Linked DNA regions of Homo sapiens: regions 1 and 2 are each linked to region 3. Evidence: promoter capture Hi-C in 16 types of primary human blood cells and fetal thymus (Javierre and others, 2016). All regions are on one chromosome and are shown on one strand. Each heading gives the region's core, a stretch centred on a gene start or on the middle of the fragment in contact. The rest is flanking DNA. Distances are from core to core; before and after follow the strand shown. Region 1 holds the start of BUB1B (BUB1 mitotic checkpoint serine/threonine kinase B). Region 2 overlaps BUB1B (BUB1 mitotic checkpoint serine/threonine kinase B). Region 3 holds the start of FSIP1 (fibrous sheath interacting protein 1).

Region 1 (4,196 bases), core at 246-2,745, 380 kb before region 3:
CACATAATTATTATTATTATTATATGCCTAAGCTTCTTTGTTAGCTGTTTTTCAAGTTTATGGCTACAGTATTGCCTGATAGAAGACAACTTGGCAAGGATATCGTAGACAGTACTATAAGAATAGGGCATGGCTATGTGCGGTGGCTCACACCTGTAATCCCACCACTTTGTGAGGCCGAAGTGGGAGGATTTCTTGAGCCAGGAGTTTGATACCAGCCTGGGCAACATAGCAAGACCCTGCCTCTTTCTTTAAAAAAAAAAAAAAAAAGAAAAATGAATAGGGCTTAAGGCAGAAAGAAAAGAAGGGAACAAAAGTGTTATAAATTTGGCAAAGTAGACAAAAAGGCAACAAGTAATTCTATGCCTACCATTGAATGCATCATCTAGTTTAATTTAAAATTAGTGCCGGATGTGGTAGCTCATGCCTGTAATCCTACCACTTTGGGAGGCTGAGTCAGGAGAAGTGCTTGAGCCCAGGAGTTCAACACCACCCTGGGCAACATAGGAAGACCCCCATCTCTACAAAAAGTGAAAAATTAGCCAGGCGTGGTGGTACACGCCCATGGTCGTGGCTACTTAGAAGACTGAGGTGGGAGCATTGCTTGGGTTCAGGGGTCGAAGCTGCAGTGAGCCATGATCACACCACTGCACTGCAGCCTGGGCAACAGAGCAAGACCCTGTCTCAAAAAAAAAACATTAAAATTAGCAAAGTGTGGGTGAGACTAATGTCCCATGTTTCAATGATGATTCAAAACTGAAGTTTGTACATATAAGTAGCTAAAAGCAGAAGCAAACAAACACAGTTTACTAGTCACAATTCCCTGCATCCTCACACCCAATTCTAGCAAGCCTACTGAGAAAACCCCCGAAACGTTTTGGAGGTAATTCCCATTACGTATTCTGCAATTCAGAGCCCTGCAATGGTTAGATAGAAGACTATTTCTAAGAGACATTACCTCTGGACTTAAAACAAAAAGAGAGACACATTGGCACTAATCTTTGAAATAGAGTGAAAGTTATATGTGACTTCAGTCTAGATGAGCACTGAAAACTCGTTGGAGACAGCTTCTTGGAAACTATGACTTTAATCAAAATGACATGTAACAAAACCAATTTTACCACAGGCTGATCGACATAAACAAAAGTTAAGTTCCTATGGCATATTTCTGGTCACAAAAACGTCACCAAACTTCTGAATAAAGACTCGAAACAAACATTTTTAATACTAAATATTGAAATAAATGTGAGCTATCCGTACACTTAAGAACATTTAATGAAAACAAAAAATAATCATTTACCCAATTTTTGGCGAATCAGTGAATGACTGCAGTCATAGTGTTGGTGGGTTAACTCAAGGAATAAATGTTTGAGAGTGAAAATTTCAAGAAGTACCTCCTACCACCACAAAGTTCAAAAAACAAATAGTAACACTATAGTGGGCATGCTGGGCACTTTCATAAGGCATTGTTTATTGTCATGCATTTATATGATTATCATACACACTTTATATAAACTTTTTAAATAGAGACAGGCCTTACTATGTTGCCCAGGCTGGTCTTGAACCGCTGAGCTTAAGCAATCCTGTTGCCTCAGCCTCCCGAAGTGCTGGGATTACAGGTGTGAGCCACCGCTCCCAGCCTTTACAGATTTTTATTTTACAGTAATTTGTATTCATTCCTTCATTCATTTTCCAACTCACTTATTCTAGTTCGGGGTTGAGGGTGGCCAGAGCCCATCTCAGCAACTCAGAGAGGAACCAACCCTGGACAGGACACCACTCCATCACAGGGAGCATCACATTCACACCCATTCAGACTGGGATCATTTAGACACGCCAATTAACAGGCACATCTTTGGGATGTAGAAGGAAACTGGAGTACCTAAGGAAACCCATGCAGACATGCGGAAAACATGAAAACTCCACATACACAGCAGCCCCGCAATGAATTGATTTTTTTTCTCATCAACATTATAACGAAACGATGTTATACCAGGACCTGCTCTATATTGTGTGAACTCTGTAAAGGTAAGGGCTATGCCATTTATTTTTGTATGCCCATGATCTAATACGAGATATAACACTATTATGCCCTGTTTGTTGAATTCATCTGAACTTTCTTCTCTTGCTCTTAAAAATAGTGAATTACACTATCTCAGTTAAATATCCCAAATTGAGCTAAGACTGCCCCCACTTCCTCCCAGACCTGCTCCTCCCACAGTCTTCCTCTTTCTCAAATAAATGGCAATCCCATTCTTCAGTTACCCAAGCCAAAAATCTTAGTGCCAACTTTGATGCCCTTCTCATACCCCTCAGTCAGTCAGCAAGTCCTACTGGTTCTACCTTCAAAATATATACAGAAATCAACCACTTATCATCATCTCCACTGTTTTCCACCTGGCTCAACTCACTTTTGAGCTGAATTATTTCAATAACCTCTTAACTGGTGTCCCTTGCTTCCATCCTTTGCTGCCTTTAGTGTATTCAACACTACAGCCAAAGTGACCCCATTTAAACCCAAGTCAGATTATGTCTTTCCTTTGCTCAAAACCTTCCAATGACTTTTGATTACAACTAGAGTAAAAGCTAAGTCCTTACAATCTGCATCTTCACCATTTTTACATAATATCCTTTTACTCTTCTAGTTAATTCTGCTCCAGTGACAATGGCCTTGGACATGCCAGGTGCAACTTCCTCCCCTAGCTCTCACCCTCAGCCTTTGTACTCTCCTCAGATATAGAACCTCTAGCTTTTGAGATTCCTTCAAGTCTTGACCAAAGTGACATCTCCTCAGTGAGACTCCAGTGTTCAAGTTAAATTGCACCAATCCCCACCCCCAATATTCACTACACCCAGTTGCTTTATTATTTTTTTTAGTACTGACCACATCTCCACCTAACAGTTTGTCTTTATTGTCTGACTCCCCCACCTTCATCCCATGCCAGAACTTAAGCTTCATGAGGGTTGAGATTTTTGTGTCTGTATATTTGCTGCACTCAGAGCTTAGCCAAAAAAATACTTGTTACATGAATGAAAGAGCCCATGACATAGCACTTATCTAGGTATTGCGGGCACCACAGTGAAAACACATACAGATTTCCAACCTAGAACTGCAATATAGTTTTTTTAATACAAGGAAAAGCCGCAAACATGCAGAAAAAGGCTTTTAGATCTCTATGTTATTGGCATAATTTAGATCTCTATGATATTGGCTAAAGGCTTTCAGATCTCTGTGCTATTGGCATAGCACCTGCCATTTGTTGAGCGCTTATTTGGAAGCAGTTACTTAACAAATACTTTGAATTCCCCCAGAACCACGTAAGGCAGCATTAACATCAGCATTTTCCATACAAACGATTTGCCCAAGGTCAAACAACTAGCAGGTGGCTGAGCTGAGTTACAAACAGACAACATTGCAACTTCCAAACTCTTTGTTCCGCTGGGGTCCCGCAGCCTTCTTCGCTTTGAAGCTGGATGCGGCAGGATTCGCACGTGCCCTCAGTCCACTGCGTTTTCACCTCCACCTCCGGCATTCTACTCCAAAAGGAAGGAGGCTCCGGTGGGGTCTGTTCTGACGGTGCCGATCTCCCCCTCGACTGCTCCGAGCGGAGCCTTCTATTACCTACCAGGCCGTGTCCTCTCAGGCCCAGCCCCCAGCAGCTTTCTCCCGTACCTACCTCAGAGCACCCCCTTCCTTCTTCACCGCCGCCATCCTGCATTCCTGGCTCAGGTCCTCGTCCTGCTGCAGGCCTTTCCTCTGGGCCACAGACCGCCTGGGCTTTCTTCCGCAACCTGCCCTCGGAGCTACAGAAGCGACCAAGGCACGTACACGACTCCCTAACAAACCGGCCACCTCAAGCCCACACCCCTAGCCGCCAAGTTTCAAATTTAACGGTCCCGCGCGGTCGACGTGGCCACGCCCCTCCGCTCCTCCGTGCTCTCGCGTCTCGCCCAAGGCATTCTGGGGCTTGTAGTTTATGCCTGTTTAGTCCGCGAACTCGCGGTGCATAATGGGAATTGTAGTTTTTGGGATTCAATGGCCGTGGAAGTGCAGCAGGCTTAGGCAAAACAAATACCCCCAGGTGCTGTCTTGAGTCGCGGCTCGAAGCCGAGTCTCTGAGCCGAGCGAGGAACACTTAAAGCACCAGAACTTCTTTGCTGTTTTGAGTGTTGGGAGATGTCTCTGAGTGCTTGCA
Region 2 (4,109 bases), core at 1,498-3,997, 400 kb before region 3:
TATGTTGCCCAGGCTGGTCTCGAACTCCTGGCCTGGAGTGATTCTCCTACCTTGGCCTCCCAAAGTGCTGGGATGGCAAACGTGGGCTGCCATGCCCGTTGAACCAGGAGGTCGAGGTTGCGGTGAGCTGAGATGGTGCCACTGCACTTCAGCCTGCTGGGCAACAGAGCAAGACTCTGTTTAAAAAGAAAAAAAAAAAAAGAAAAAAAATAGCCTTCCCCTTGTCCTGAGCACTTAGGCAGAATTTTTGCTCAAAATCTTAATTATTATTTTTGCATTCCTAGCATGTAGTGGGAGTTATAAATTAGTTATGAGGTAACTCTTGCACTGGGACAGAATTCAACCTAGTATTAGGACTAGGGCTGGGCGCAGTGGCTCACGCCTGTAATTCCAGCACTTTGGGAGGCCAAGGCGGGCGGATCACTAGGTCAGGAGATCGAGACCATCCTGGCTAACACGGTGAAACCCCGTGTCCACTAAAAAAAAAAAAAAATTAGCTGGGCGTGGTGGCAGATGCCTGTAGTTCCAGCTACTTGGGAGGCTAAGGCAGGAGAATGGCGTGAACCTGGGAGGCAGAGCTTCCAGTGAGCCCAGATCGCACCACTGCACTCCACACTCCAGCCTGGGCGACACAGCGAGACTCCATCTCAAAAAAAAAAAAAAAAAAAAAAAAAGAACTAGGCAATGTTAAGCATTAGACTAAATCTCAGGCTGGCTTGTTTATTTAACCACCAGCTACTATACTTTTTCTTAAAAACAGAAATGCTAAGGATTAGGAAGAAAGAGGAAAAATATGTCCAGAAGGAAAAAGCAGGATAAGAGGGAAAACTATCATAATTTCTCATTACTATCAATGACAAAATGAGAACGTCTCATTTAAATCACATTATCTTTTCCCTACATCCCCATTATCCCATCAGACAAATCTTCTAACTCTACTGCTGAAGCCTCTCCCATCCAAGCTCCCTTCTCCTTTCATTACCACTACCCTGCCCAAATACCGCCCCTTAATATCCTTGCCTGAACTATTCCAATAGCTTATTTATGTATGTTCAATCCATCTTCCAGAATAGCCACCATTGATTTTCCTAAAGCAATGTTCAGTAATGAAAATATAAACCTAATTAATGTTTATTCCTTAATAAAATATTAACAAATGGTCTTTTAACCCTAACATACTCAAAGGAATACAAACATAAAGGATATACAAAATTTTGTCTGGTTACTTTTTTTTTTAATAAATAGAGACAGGGTCTCACTAGGCTGCCCAGGCTGGTCTTGAACACCTAGGCTCAAGGGATCCTCCTGCCTCAGCCTGTGCTGGGATTACAGGTGTGAGCTACTGCGCCTGGCCTGGTTACTTTCATCTTCATAAAGAAGAAACTGCCTTTGGGAAGTAGAATAGGTGCCTCTGCCCACCCTTAATAATTCCCACTTCAAAATATCCAAAAACCACACTCACATAACTGGCTGTCGTGCAGTCTCTTCCACATATGGAGTGAAACTGGGAAGCACAGCGGGTACAGCTATCAGTGAAGCTGTATTGCCACGAGGCTGGAGATGAAGAAGAAAACTAAAATTACCATAGTTTTATGTTCTCAGACAGCATATATAGACCATGGCTAAATATTCAAGAGGAATTAAAAGAGATGGTAAAAATACTTCTCTACCCTAAATGTGAAGTCTTTGTTGTGTCAGCAAAGCACTGGATCTAAGAGTCCTTACCCTGTGTTCCAAGGACCTGCCTGTGTTCCAAGGGCCTGCTTGCAGCTCATTCTCTTTGGCCCTGGGCATGGGGGGTGCTATCCATGGCTGGACTGTAGGCTTAGACAACTCTGCTGTAGAAGCCTCATCAGCATTTTCATCAAAAACAGTAATTCTACTATTATTTTGCATCTGTTGAGGAAATGGATTTTGGAGTCCTCTGTTCTGGCTTGGAGCTAGGAGCAAAAATATTAAAACCTCATGTAAAATGTTTCATTATTAACTTAGATGCCAGATAAAGTATACCTATTCTTCCTCAACTCAAGGACAGTATTTCCACTACAACAGAAAAAAAAAAAGAAATTTTAAAAATAATCTTTAAAAAAATTAATAAATCAAAAATAGAATCGTTTTATCCATTCTTTGTTACTTATATTCTGCCTTCTTTTCCCTCCTCCAGTCACCCCACATCTTTTATTCACAAATTTCCAAAAAAGACATTCTGCATCTTCCTTCAGTCATCATTATAACATTATCTAGTTTTATCAGAAACTAACCTAAGTTTTATTCTTCAGTTTTAAATTTTCTCTCAATGGAAATCAGCAGAGATATACTGGAACTAGAGAATACAAAATTAACCCATTTATTAGGGGTTTTCTCTGTTGTGGGGCTGGTTATTAACCAAGCTTCATCATGATCTGGATGAAATAGCCTTTGGGACCATACACTCCCTATATCCTAATTCTAGAACCACCAAGTAACATTCTGATTATTGATAAATTGATACCAGGAAAGAAATAAGAGATTAAAAAAACAGCCTGGTTTACATGTCTAACTGCTATAAATTTAGTAAATAAAAGCTTATTATTCTCTGTACCTTCTGCTCAATTTTGCTATGAACCTAAAACTACTCTAAAAAATAGTCAGTGTTGTCCAGATGCAGTGGCTCACACCTATAATCCTAGCTACTTGGGAGGCTGAGGCAAAAGAACTGCTTGAGCCTAGGAGTTTGAAGCTGCGGTGAGCTATGATTGCACTACCACGTTTCAGGCAACAGAGCGAGAACCTATCTCTCAAAAAAAAAAAAAGTCCATGTTAATTAAAAAAAATTATTGCTGATCTTTGGGTATATAGAGAGTCTAATTTCTGGTCCCAAAGGGCTCTGAAGGCAGGGTTCTTAACCATATTAGTATCATTCTCTGAGGCTTTGGTATATGTAAGCTTCACTTTAACAACACCTGCTATGTTACTACATATCTTCTTTCAACTAACAATTCAAACTCAGAAAATCTTGATGCTTCCTAAATGTTAGGTCTTTCTTAATTAAGACACAAAATTACTGATGCATTTTGATTTTACTGCACACTGTAATATTAGCTCTCCTTTGACTTCCTTCTTTTTGCTACTCAGTATTCAGCAAACTAGAAGTGTCCACAGGTATATTTATGTATTATCTTCTTACATGATTTTACCACTAGAAACTAACAGTTTTCCGAAATAACGTTTAACAAACTTACCCTTGAGAGCACCTCCTACACGGATGATTGGAGCTCTTGCTGTCTTTTTCCCTTTGCTCTTTAGTTCAGCTAGTGTGCTTCGTTGTGGTACAGAAGACTCAAAAACTTCCTCCTCTTCTTCTTTCTCAAGTGCCAACAGAGTTTGCCGAGACACTCGAGCTTGGAATTGTCTAAAGTAGCAGAATGCACAACTTTTAGTGAGGTGACCACTATTTTACCAGACTCAAAATTTCCAATTTGTTAAAGTAAACAAATTAGAAGAGCAGGCTGGGGGAAGAATGCAGAAATATCCCAAAGAACATGTTTATTCTCTCAGAAGTAAAGAGAGTCACCTTAAGATCATGAAAAGTTTTGGCTAGAATTATTTAACTCTCCCTTTAAATGCCCAAGTTTGACCAATTTAAATTATTCTGAAAATCACCATTAAGTTGATCTGAGGATCAGGTTAGGGTTATTAAGACTAAGATCACAGAGTTTATTAAGATTAGAGTTTTCCCACTAACTTTTTATTAGAAAACTTGACCCACCAATTGTTAACACTGTGCCACATCTATTTTATCACTGTGTCTCTTTTTCTATACACATGCATGCGCGCACGTGCACGCACACACATATACGGTTTCTCCTGACCTATATGAAATGAAGTTGCATATGACATGACATTGTACTTTAGCAAAGCTGGCAGAAGTTTGAAAAGTAAACTTCCTATGCTGCTGCCACAGTTTTAAGTATTATCAGAAGAGATTCTCCATTCCTACCACTGCTTCATTTAACTAGCCTTAAAAAGTATTATCATAAGGGTAAAAAAAACCCCAAAAAACCCAGAATAAATTGCAGGTGTTGGCCAAGATGGAGTATGCCCACTGTACCTTTTCTCTTTCTCTCACT
Region 3 (4,041 bases), core at 1,392-3,891:
AGAAATTGGGAAGGTATTGTTTTCTTAGTGGACACTATTAGTCACCAAATTAAAAACTGGAAAGAATGGCCTTCGTTTATGGTGTATGAGAACCGTGCAGGCACTTGGCAATGATCTCGTCTTGCCGCTAGGTAAACAGCGGTCGGTGGACGGGGAGCATTGGCATCATCTAGGAGCCTGTTAGTCTCAGGTCTCACCTGATACTGAATCAACATTTTTTTTTTTGAATCAGCATTTTTAACAAGATTCCTCGGTGATTTGTCTGCACATTAAAGTTGAGAAGGCCTAGATTCATTTGATCTCAGGTACACCCCTGGTTGTGTAGTTTATGAAGTCTCCCCAGGTGATTCTAATGCTCTGTGCAGTTAAGCACTGCAAAACTAGTCCAACTTCATTTTTCAAATGAAGAAACTGTGGCCCACAAAAGCTTATGTATTTACCTAAGATAACCTAGCTGTTTAATATCAAAATCCAAATAATGTCATCTCTCTTCTTCATAAAAAAATAAAGCAGGGTTGAGGGGACAGAGGGTAGGGAGTGTGGAGATGGGGATAATTATTTTATACAGGGTGGTTGGGAAAGGCCCTCCTGAGGAAGCGGACGCCTGAGGAAAGAGAGGAGCAAACCAGGTGGATAGCTGGGAAACTGTATTTCAGGCTGGTGTGTGTGTGTGTGTATTTGGACTGGAGGAACAACAAGTGTTTCCAAATTCCTGACAGATACTGATCTTTGGGATGCAGAAACAGGAAATCAGAATTACCAGCTGTTCTCAAAATCTTATTCTTAAAATATTCTCTACCTTCTTCATATTCTTTACTCATTATTACAAGTATCTGAAGCCTTTGTTTAAAAAATGAGAACTATTAAATTTAGAAGTGTTTACAAGAAGTGGGGTTTATAGCAAATATTCAAATGCTGGAAAACACAGAGAACATTATTGAGGAGTATTCAAATAATAGATCTCCTAGCAGGGTTAACTGTACTACCCAGAATCATGGGTTGGAAACTGTCAATTTAAGGATTTACTTTGAATCCAAAACCCGTTACTTTTTTGAACACTGCTCATAGAATTTGTATAAAGTATACAATGAGTATCAACCTATTTATATTTTATTTGCAAGAATGACTCACTGCCAGCGGCACACAGGGCCAGGAACATAGGCTTTCATGGCACCAACTACAAACAAGACTGACTGATGAGATTGTGGCCATGTCTCTCCCAAGTGCTCCTGACCTGGTTCCTGAAAATGTTCACCTCAACCTCGAACTCAGCATTTCCTGTGCTGGTTTTCAACTTGACATTGGTGAATTTCTTCAGTAACATCTCTAGGTCGGCTGCTAAGTTTTAATTCTCATAGGAGGATTAGGATACTTTCTCCCATTTTCTTCAGTTTGCAACTTTTTTTCTTTTGAGATTTGGAAAGCCACATAAATTCCCTGAGAAATGCTGGGAAGAAATCCCTGCACAGAAACACTAACAATGAGGACAGTGAGGCTGGAACCAGGTTTACCAGGGGAAAGCAGTAGGTAGGAGTGGAGGTCAGAGAGCCAACAGAAAGCCTTATCATTTAGAGATGATGTCAGTATGAACCTGAATGGAAGCACTGAAGTTGTGACGAATGTTTGGATTCTGAATATATTTTGAATGTTGAGCTGATAGGACAAATAGATTGTAGAGTGAGAGAGGAAGAAGAATTGAGGATGACTCCAAGGTTTTTGGTCTAGGCATGGCAGGCTGAAATTACCATTTGCTGAGATGGATAGAAAGTGGGTGGGGGACTCTGGAGAAGTTGTTTTTTCCCGTGTTAAGTTTGAGATGCTTACACATCTAAGTGGATATGCCAAATAGGCAGTTAGGTAAAGGAGTCTGGAGTTCAGGGAAGTCTGGGCTGGTGATAAGATGCAGGATTCAGGAGCATAGGGATGGCATTTATAGCCAGGTTTTTATACCCAGCACTCGCCTAGACTGCAGCTGTGTTCTTTCGGCAACTCAGCCTACGACTATTTGCTTCGCTGAAAAAAAACCACATCGTACCTAGTTAAAACAATGAGGACAAAGGGGCCATGAATGTGAAAATGCCCTGTAAACGGTAATGTGCTGTTCAGACTGGAAAGCAGGAGAAATGATGGCAATGGAGGTGAGGAAAATCAGTTTGTGGACGTAGGGAAATAATTTTCGTGCACTGAGAATTAGAGAAACTACGAAATGAAAGAAGGTGCAAAAAGCAATTATAACTCTTTTTGGACTGTAGCCGAATCTGTGCAAAACTCATATTTTTAAAATTTCCATAGCACCCCAAATTTACTAGAGCTTCACATACATGGTCTTTTTGAGCTGCACAAGTCTTGTAAGAAGGGAATTATTATTGTTCCCATTTTACGGAGGAGGAAACTGTGCTCGGAGAGGATAACTGACCTGTAAGGCATCACAGCAATATGAGGGACAGAGATACACAAGCATCCAGACGTCCGCGTTCCGAATCCAACCTAAAGACGAAAAATCGCTCCCAACCCCCACCGTCGGCAGCGAAGACGGAAGGACACACGCCGGCCGTCCCAGCTCGCAGGGCTCCAACAGCCGCCGGCCCCGGTCCCATTTCCGGATGGTACAGCCCTTTCCGCTATCGCGAGACCGGAAGCATCGCGCATCTGGTTGCCAGGGAAACAGCGGTCCCACAGGCAGGAGGGATCTGGACCGGCGGCTTCTTCCACTACCAGAGAGGCTGAGGTGGCGGGAGAGACCCCTCTCCTCTGGGGGTAAGTGGCTGGCGCGGCGAGTGTCTGCGGCGCGCTTCTGCGGCCATCTGCGCCCTGACTGACGGCGGCCAGTTCCTCGAGGAGGCCCGGCGGGAAGGTGAGGGGCCGCGCAGATGAGGGCGGAGCTCGGTCGCGGGGCGGTGCGCCGAGGAGTGGGCGGGGCGGAGCTGCGTCGGGCCGCTTGGCATGTAGATGGACTGTCAGGGAGAGCGGACAGGGCCAATGAGAGGGCGGGGGCGGGCTCATTGGGGGCGGGGCCCCAGCGGCTTCTGCCTCCGCGGAGGCTATTTCTCCAGGAATCACCTAACATTAGGACCTGTAACCAAGGCTTCTACTTTCCCGAGATTTGGATCTTCCCACCAAGATCTAGAACTGATCACCAGCCATTTAAACTAGACCGTAAACGGCAAAGGATGCAAATAGGCATTTCACAGGAAAAATAAAAAGATGCAAACAGCAAACAATTGATTAGAGACTCAACTTTTCTCGTGAAGAAATGTAAACCAAATTCACAGATACCTTTTACACCTATGAGACTGGAGAAGATGAAACAGCTTTGACATAACCAGATGGGCCCCAGCCCAGTGTAGGGGAAGTAGTGTAATTTGGTGCAGCCTTTTTGGAGTACAATTTGGCGAACTACCAAAATTTGAAACATAAGTGTTCTTTGACTCAGCAATTCTAATATATTTTATGGATGTATGAGCATAACTAAAGAAAGATTGGCACAAATATATTAACTTAAAATTGAGGTATAACTTACTTATGGTAAGCCTCACCCATTTAATCTACAGTTCTGTGAGTTTTGACAAATGTATACAGTTATGTAATTACCAACCACCACAATCAGCATACGGAAGTTTCATCATGAACCCCAAATTCCCTAGTGCTCTTTGTATTTAATCCCTCCCCTAACGCCATCCCTGGCAACAACTTCCTAGTTTTTTGTTCCTGTAATTTTGCCTATTCCAGAATGTCATATTGATGGAAGCAAACACCCTGTGGCCTTTTGAATCAGGCTTCTTTCAGCTTAGCATCATGCAGTTGCTATTCATTCATGTTCTGTGTATCAGTTGTTCCTTTATGTTGCTGAGTAATAGTCCATTGTATGGATCTACGGTAGTATATTTATCCATTTCCTACTTGAGGCATATTTGGATGAGTTCTTTCCAGTTGTTGGCTATTATTGATGAAGCTGGTATAAATATTCATGTACAGGTTTTTTTTTGTGTGTGTGAATATGTTTTCATTTCTTGGGTAAATATGAATGAGATTGTGGAGTCA

Evidence for each region. The method cuts DNA at HindIII sites, captures the fragments that hold promoters and counts their contacts. A CHiCAGO score of 5 or more calls a contact.
Region 1: a contact is called between a fragment that was not itself captured here and the fragment with the promoter of FSIP1 in region 3, in 1 of 17 cell types (neutrophils). The highest score is 7.3, in neutrophils.
Region 2: a contact is called between a fragment that was not itself captured here and the fragment with the promoter of FSIP1 in region 3, in 1 of 17 cell types (naive B cells). The highest score is 5.1, in naive B cells.

The regions. Positions count from the first base shown.
Region 1 is chr15:40,160,737-40,164,932 of GRCh38, reverse strand. BUB1B (BUB1 mitotic checkpoint serine/threonine kinase B) reads right to left here and starts at 3,864. Exons shown (of 23, transcript NM_001211.6): 1 at 3,678-3,864. The coding sequence starts at 3,712. RefSeq lists enhancers at 2,709-3,473, 3,481-3,610, 3,631-3,730. The HindIII fragment of the contact is 2,921 bases long and covers 35-2,955 here.
Region 2 is chr15:40,182,996-40,187,104 of GRCh38, reverse strand. It overlaps BUB1B (BUB1 mitotic checkpoint serine/threonine kinase B), which reads right to left. Exons shown (of 23, transcript NM_001211.6): 6 at 3,222-3,391; 7 at 1,726-1,940; 8 at 1,463-1,554. All of the region lies in intron 1 of LOC107984763 (a long non-coding RNA gene), which reads left to right. Among named protein-coding and RNA genes, the nearest start is that of BUB1B, 24 kb to the right of the region's middle. The HindIII fragment of the contact is 361 bases long and covers 2,567-2,927 here.
Region 3 is chr15:39,781,441-39,785,481 of GRCh38, reverse strand. It overlaps FSIP1 (fibrous sheath interacting protein 1), which reads left to right and starts at 2,641. Exons shown (of 12, transcript NM_152597.5): 1 at 2,641-2,854. LOC105370941 (a long non-coding RNA gene) reads right to left here and starts at 2,576. Exons shown (of 1, transcript NR_135665.1): 1 at 1-2,576. RefSeq lists an enhancer at 2,402-2,531 and a silencer at 2,832-3,011. The HindIII fragment of the contact is 7,042 bases long and covers 430-4,041 here.